2 separate regions of the Homo sapiens genome follow, and region 2 is linked to region 1. The links are contacts of gene promoters, found by promoter capture Hi-C in blood cells and fetal thymus (Javierre and others, 2016). All regions are on one chromosome and are shown on one strand. Each heading gives the region's core, a stretch centred on a gene start or on the middle of the fragment in contact. The rest is flanking DNA. Distances are from core to core; before and after follow the strand shown.

Region 1 (4,049 bases), core at 873-3,372:
ATATTTTTGATGGATAAGAAAGGCAATAAAATACATAAATATACTATGTAAGATGATTTCAGATGATGAGAGGTTCTATGAAAAAAAGATAATACATAGTAAGGGTTTCAGGGGCATCTCCCAAGAGAAAGATTAGGGATGCGCTATTTTGCATAGAGTAGTGTAACCCCAGAAGAACTCTTTGAAGTCACATTTGACCAGAAACCTGAATGAATTGAGGAAATGAAGCCGGGCGCGGTGGCTCACGCCTATAATCCCAGCACTTTGGGAGGCCGAGGCGGGCGGATCACGAGGTCAGGAGATTCAGACCATCCTGGCTAACACGGTGAAACCCCGTCTCTACTAAAAATACAAAAAAATTAGCTGGGCGTGATGGCGTGTGCCTCTAGTCCCAGCTGCTGGGGAGGCTGAGGCAGGAGAATGGCGTGAACCTGGGAGGTGGAGCTTGCAGTGAGCCGAGATTGGGCCACTGCACTCCAGCCTGGGTGACAGAGCAAGACTTCGTCTCAAAAAAAAAAAAAAAAAAAAAAAAAAAAAAAAGGAAAGAAGGAAATGAGACGTGTCAATATCTGTGCAAAGAGTTCCAGGCAAATGCATTGGCCCCAAGGCCGGGATGTACTTGGCAATTTTGTAGGGCCTGTGATATAGGCCAGGGGAAGGATGTCAGATTTTATTCTAAAAGTCATAGAAAGCCTTGGAGGATTTTGAATAGAGGAGTGATAAGACCGGTCTTATATTTTAAGAAGGTGTGGTAAATAGACTAAGGGAGGACAAAAAATCAAAGAAGTCCAGGTGAGAGATAATGGTGGCATGGCATAGGACCATAGCAGTGGGAACGGTGGTCAGTCATATTTGGAACTTTATTTACTTATTTTTAAATAGATCTAATGCAAAAGGCTGGTATGGTAGTTTCGGTGGGGTATGTGAGAAAGGAGAAAAAGGTGATTCCTTCGATTGAACATTTGCAATTGAGTAAAGTGCAACTGGGGAAAGATGTCTGTCACCACTGGATATGAGGGTCTGAAGTGCAGAGGAAACGGTGTTCCAGGGCCTGCATGTAATCATCCAGCTGATATCTGACTGAGAAGTGGTTGGAGAACTGAGTCCTGGGGCAATCCATTAATCAAATGTGCCAAATGCTGCTGACAGATGGAGTAAAATGAGGACTGGGAACGACCATTGGAAGTCACTGGTGCAGGATACATTGGGGTCAGCGGTGAGGAGAAAAGCTGGATTGGGTTATGCTCAACGTAGATGGATTTCTTCAGGAAATAAATTGATACGTGCGAGGGATTTAAAATGGGGGAGTCCGGAAGTGGTGGTTCACGCCTACAATCCCAGCACTTTGGGTGGCCGAGGCGGGCGGATCACTTCATATCAAGAGCTCGAGATGAGCCTCGCCAACACGGTGAAACCCTGTCTCTACCAAAAATACAAAAAAAAGAAAAAAAAATAGGTGAAACCCCAACTATTCGGGAGGCTGAGGCACGAGAATCGCTTGAATCCCGGAGACTGAAGTTGCAGCGAGCCGAAATCGCGCCACTGCAGTCCAGCCTGGGCGAAAGAGAAAGACTCCGTCTCAAAGAAAAAAACAACAAAAAAACCCTGCATGTCTATATTTTCGAATTTGTATGTAAGACGTCTTAATTGTATGCGTTAAATTAAAAAAGGACAAAAGGAATGGAACTACCAGCAGCGACTAAGTCAGTAAAAGAGTGGTAATGGGGAAGGGGGTGGAATATACGCAGGCGCAATAGCAAGCGTTTCTTTTGGAGGTTATTTTCGTGTCATAAATTTCTAAATTCACGTTAAGTCTTACAAGAGCATGTTAAACATTAAAACATAAGATTGTTTCTGGTCAATAAGGGGTCTATAAAAAATAAAGCAATAAGGTGTCTTGTTCAATTTTATGCCTTAATTCAAAAAGAAACGAAGAAACGGAACCCTCAGCTACGACTTTTAAAAGTCAGTAACGGGTGGATGGGAGGAGTCAAACATACGTAGGCGCAACAGCGAGGGATCGGTCTGAGGCGGAGCTAGAATTTCGTTAAAGGACAGCTCTTACAGCCAATCAAGGACAGAGTCGGTGGCTTCTTCCCGGAGGAGACCGGAAGTTGGTTTCGGCTGCAGAGGGGAAGGCGGCTACCAGTGTAAAGCCAGAGCTGAGGTAAGTGGGCGGCAACGGTTTGGGGCCGCCGCCTGTGTGCGTTTTTTTCTTCCGGACCCCGCAGCTTCCTCTGTGCTGGGCTGGGAACTGGGGAGGCATGGCTGAGTTCGGCCTCCAAAGGCGGTCTTTCGTCTTTCTCTCCCGAGTCTCTCCGAGAGTGCGGTCTCTCCGAGAGCGCGGAGGCCTCGGGGTGGACAGCCTGGAGGAGGGGGCTCTAAGCGTGGCAGTCTCGGGGCTTCCTCCGTGTTGGGACGCCGAGCCGGAGTGGAGGTTGGGAGACCTGGCGTCTAGTCCCCGCGCCGCTGTTTTTCTAAGCTGTGTGGCCTTGGGCGAGTCATTTGCCCTCTCCGGCTCTTTGTAACATGAGAGTAGCCCTCCCTGCCCTTCCTTCTTCTGGGAGCAGTTATGAAACAGCTGAGGTATGGGGGCAGGCGAGGGCGGTAGATCCCAAGCCTAATCGTCAGGTCCATCTGGAGAGGTTTTAAAAGCGACATTCTAGGGCCCATTCACAGTAGACAGAATGAATCAAATCTCTGGGGCTGGGACCCTGGAATGTCTGTCGTCTTCTGGTGAAGCTCCTTCTCCCCCAGTAGAACAAACACTAGATGTTGGATCTTGAGTTAAGAACCAGCTCTGATGCTTGGCTCTGCTTTTATTAAAAATAAGACCTCCATCACCTTTGAAAAGTTCCATCTAGAGAGACAGTAGAGAAAGAAATATAATTTTTGTGATATGCCAGTCCTTATTGTACAGTTAGATGCTTCTCGGCTTAGGGATATAAGAGAGCTTGCCCTTTGGAGCTAAAGGGACCTGGGATAAGAATTCCTGTTGTGCCATTTATTAACCTTTTGATCTGGGGCAACACTTCCCCTCATTGAGACTTCGGATCCTCACTTCTAAAATGAAATTGATAATAGAACTTAATTCGTGGGACCGTGTGGTGGCTCACGCCTGTAATCCCAGCACTTTGGGAGGCCGAGGTGGGCGGATCACTTGAGGTCAGGAGTTCCAGACCAGCCTGGCCAACATGGTGAAAACCTGTCTTTACCGAGAAATACAAAAATTAGCTGGGCGTGGTGGTGCGCACCTGTAGTCCCCAGCTACTCAGGAGGCTCAGGCAGGAGAATCCCTTGAACCCGGGAGGCAGAGGTTGCAGTGAGCCCTGATGGTACCACTGCACTCCAGCCTGGGAGACAGATTGAGCCCTTGTCTCAAAAAACAAAACTAACAACAAAAACCCCAAAAACCTTAATTCATAGAATTGTTAATGAAGATTATGTTACAGAGGCCATAAAAAATGGTACCTGTCATGTAGTTGGCCTTAGGAAAATGGCAGCCGCAATACAGGAATGCACATCGTGTAGGAAAGTACAGAGCAGCACTCCTCACCTAAAAAGGTTTGAGTGGGATGAAACGTGAGCTGTCAAAAATTGTATTTTCTGCCGGGCACGGTGGCTCACGCCTGTAATCCCAGAACTTTGGGAGGTCGAGGCAGGTGGAACACGAGGTCAGGAGATCGAGACCATCCTGGCTAACACGATGAAATCTCGTCTCTACTGAAAATAGAAAACATTAGCCGGGCGTCGTGGCGGGCGCCTGTAGTCCTAGCTACTCAGGCGGCTGAGGCAGGAGAATGGCGTGAACCCGGGAGTCCGAGCTTGCAGTGAGCCGAGATCGTGCCACTGCACTCCAACCTGGGTGACAGAGCGAGACACTGTCTCAGGGAAAAAAAAAATGTATTTTGAAGTACCAGATCACTGTTAATTCTTTGATTTTGGTAATTGTGCTTTGGGTAGAAGAAAACATTCTTGTCACGAGAAAACACACTGAAGTATTCAGGGGTAAAGGAATGAAAAACCAATAAAGCAAATGAAGGAAAATG
Region 2 (4,049 bases), core at 951-3,450, 3.1 Mb after region 1:
GGCACACTGATTTTGAGCCACAAGAGAAAGAGGCTGCACAATAGCCTTACACATCCAGTTAATACTGGGCACTTCACTCATACCATGTACATCCTGAACACAGAGGACTTCTGATTTGAAAGACTAACGGATATAACCCATTTGCAGGTAACAGGCTGTTCAGCAGCTGTGAGAGAAAACACTGGCAAAGATACGTGTCCAAGAAGGTGACAAAGCAGAAAAAAATAGTGAGGGAAGAACAAATCATCCTTGGTATCAGGGTACTATTATTTCCTCACACTAAGTCTCCTTTTTGCTAAGTCAGCTTGAATGGGTTTCTGCTACTTGCAGCACAAACTGCATTGACTATGACCATTCTGCTCATTCTAGACTAATGACTTTAAAACTACAGCTCAGCTAGGTCAAGGATCCATCGTGGAAGATGAAGTACAGTAGGTGGTGCAAGAGTTGCTAAGGAGAATTAGGACACTGTCCTAGACCCTCAGGAATTTACAAACCAGCTTGAAAGACAGCCCAGAAACAGCCAACTGTATCTAAGACAATGTGACTGAAATGTAATTATATTGTGAATGCAACAGAGAAAAGACAAATGTGTCAGTTCTAGGAATGCAATTCACTTATATGTTTGGGACTTCCTATAATATTAGGCCTGCATGCTTTGAACATATGATCCTTTATACTATAGTTATTTTACTTTCATTTCCAATCCTTTAATTTTTCCTCACATATACAGCCTCAGATGCAGAATTGTTCACCAAATCAGTTAAGTGGGCTGAGGTCATTAAGGCAGGTATATTAGATGCCATGGGAGACACAAGAGTACGTGCATTTGTATTTGGAAAAAAAAATATATATATATATATTATGCCTGCTGTTTTTAATGTAGCAGCTGACATTTGAAACCCAAGAACAGATTTCAAAAAGGAAAACCAAAGTGTCACCTTCTTCTTATCAGTTAAAAAGGGCTATACTATGTTTGTGGATGAAGTTACTTGATAAAATTTTTTATTACCTTTCCTTTTTGTGTGTGTGTGTGTGTGTGACGGAGTTTCGCTCTTGTTGCCCAGGCTGGAGCGCAATGGTGAGATCTCGGCTCACTGCAACCTCCACCCCCCAGGTTCAAGCGATTCTCCCACCTCAGCCTCGCAAGTAACTGGGATTACAGGCATGCACCACCACGCCTGGCTAATTTTTTGTATTTTTAGTAGAGACGGGGTTTCTCCATGTTGGACAGGCTGATCTTGAACTCCCAACCTCAGGTGATCTGGCTGCCTCGGCCTCCCAAAGTGCTGGGATTACAGGCGTGAGCCACCGCGCCCAGCCTATATTACCTTTCTTCAGCATTAATAAATAAAAATGTAATAGATAAGTGTAAGACTCAAGTTTAATCCAACTCCTTTTTCATCTTTCAGGTATACAGAATGTAAGCTTTGCTAGGATCATAAAGAATCAGAAATGTGGATGATTTTACCCCAGAAAACCATGTTGAATATTGACTATATTATTTTTAAAAAAGAGAAGAGCCTATAGCTGTCACCCCTAACAGATTGTCTTGTTGCCGTTCCTGCCAACTTCTGAGGGAAGAAATATTTCCATTCTGTTCCAATTTTCAACACAAATAAGGAAGTAATATGGCTGATTTCCGTTCTGGTGACTCAATATTAAGTTGGCTGAGGAAACTGATGTTTGCAGAAATAGTTCTGGGAAAATGCAAAGCAGGGAAACACATTGATGCCCAGGTGGTATTTTTTTTTTTTAAACTCCAATTATATTGGGATATTAGTGCTTCATTCTCTATAATCAAATGTGTTCTAGGCTGCATTTACAGCTCATCCACCCTTCTCTGCCTGCACTGTCACACTTGGAAAACGGACCAGTTCCTACAGCAGGCACACAAATTGACAAAGCAGCATTCTGAATCGGCAAAGGGGAGAAAAAGCAAATGAAGAGCAGGTTGTTAGCACTACCCTACCCTTTGCAAAGAATAAACACAAAGTTGTTCTGCCTAGACTCAAGCATTATTATAGGGATCTGTAACTAAAAAAGGTTAGTGACATTCAAACAGAAATCACTATCCTGAGGGCCATTTACTCAAAAGTTTCTAATTAAAATAGCCTTTATATTACTACCTTGGAGCTATCACATACCCCATAACTAGCATTTGGTCAGTCTGAGCTCAAACTTCAACATATCTTCTGGCACCTGGAGAAACATCGTCTGTATTTATCAGAGCTTTGCTTTAAACCCAGGATTATTTCAGTTATACCCATAACTTATATCCTTTTTGCCATAGGTATATTTGCTGAATAGCTACTGGATGCAAATGACAAAAACATCAATGAAACAGGCTTAGATTTATGATCTTCCCAGGCCATTTTTCCCCCTCTATAGTCTGAAACATCTCTATTTGAAACTCAGTCTAGTTAAAACAGAACTCCTCTTACCCTCAGATCTACTTGTTCAGCTTATGAACAGCTTAGATAATAGCCAGACAATTCTTCCAGTTTTGCAGTATCAAAATTGTAAGACAATCATGGCTCAGTGGTTAGGAGAATGGGCTCTAGAGTTAAGGTGCCTGATCCTACCCCTGGGTGAAGCCATAGGCTTGCAAGGCCTTAGTTTTCACATTTATTAAATAAAATAATATTAACAGTAACTGCATCATAGGGTAGTTTTGAGGATAAGATGAACTAATGTGGGTAAATTATAAATATATGCTATTGTTATTATTCCACCTCCTACACATTTTTCAATTAAGTCCTGTTGTCTCTGTCCTAACTCATATCCTTTTATCTCACCTGGGTATACCACACTATCCCCTTAATTTCAGAATGGATCTCCTTAACTCCTTTTACCTCTATGATGTATCCAAACACTGTGACACTCAGAATTGGTCCTAAACACAAATCTGAGCAATTCAGGGTAATTTTACAATCTACTGGTGATTTCTCACTGCCCATGAGATAAGCTTAAAATTCCAATTTGGCATTGTAATTCTCCAAGAATAGATTCAGGCAGCAGAACAGAAAGTCATGAGAAGCCCAGAGGTGCCTCTATGTACGATAATTGCTTGCAGGAGGAATGAATGGATTTAAACATTAAGTCTGGTCTTTAGTTTTACCTCTATCACAAATTAGCTATGATGTGCTCCAGTGGTTTTAGTTTCCTCACCTAGAGGCTGATTATCATTATCATTCGTTTCTTTGCTTAAATCCTATAATCTACCCAGCTTTCCTGCCATGGCTGAAAGCCTAAACTACGCTTGTTTTACTTTATTCTCTCTAAATAACTTTTCACCTTACTAGTTGTTCCTTTTGCTTAAAAATCTTTCTGCCCCTTCCCGTCAATATCTTTCTGGGGGAAACTGTACCCTCTCTATAATATTCAACTCTAATTTCATCTTATTCAGGAAACCCTCTCATGCCCACCCTCTTGTCAGATGAGTTTTTTTTTTTTTTGCTCTGTCAGTCCCCTAGCACATTAAGAGTACGCCATTATAAGACTTATCAGTTTTCCTCTTAGCAGTTAGTTATCCGTTCAAAAGACTGTAAGCTTATGAATGATAGAGTCTAAAAACCTTCTGTCCTTAGCACAGGGCCACTGCCTGTGGCAAGTGCTCAAAATTTTGAGTTCAGACACTCATCGACTTGGTAGTGTGAAAGGTGTCTGCTACAAACTTATTAACTTTCCAGAGCTTCAGGCTCTGGAAACTATTGATGGAGAGAGGTGAAGATAAGAAAGACACCTATCTTGAGTTTTAGTAGGCAGAACACTCTAGAGAATCATTTGACTGGTTTTCTCACTCTGTAATTTTCAGACCATTTATATCAAATTAATTTGTGGTGCTTGTTAAAGATGCAGATTTCTTGACCCCACAGACTTATTGAATTGGGATCTCTAGGGGATGCCTGGGCATCTGCATTTTTAATGTGCATATAGGTTTATTGATTTACAAATCAAACTCATATTTCTTTTACTGGCATGACAATCACCGTAATTCAGTGTAATTCTCAAAAGTGTGGTGCAGGAACTCCTGGGTGTCCCTGACA

What was found. The method cuts DNA at HindIII sites, captures the fragments that hold promoters and counts their contacts. A CHiCAGO score of 5 or more calls a contact.
Region 2: a contact is called between a fragment that was not itself captured here and the fragment with the promoter of MED7 in region 1, in 1 of 17 cell types (total B cells). The highest score is 5.2, in total B cells.

What each region holds. Positions count from the first base shown.
Region 1 is chr5:157,140,938-157,144,986 of GRCh38, reverse strand. It overlaps MED7 (mediator complex subunit 7), which reads left to right and starts at 2,122. Exons shown (of 2, transcript NM_004270.5): 1 at 2,122-2,167. RefSeq lists enhancers at 1,495-1,594, 2,405-2,454. The HindIII fragment of the contact is 9,177 bases long and covers 1-4,049 here.
Region 2 is chr5:154,040,542-154,044,590 of GRCh38, reverse strand. The region is part of intron 1 of MFAP3 (microfibril associated protein 3); the gene reads right to left. Among named protein-coding and RNA genes, the nearest start is that of MFAP3, 3.6 kb to the right of the region's middle. The HindIII fragment of the contact is 1,540 bases long and covers 1,431-2,970 here.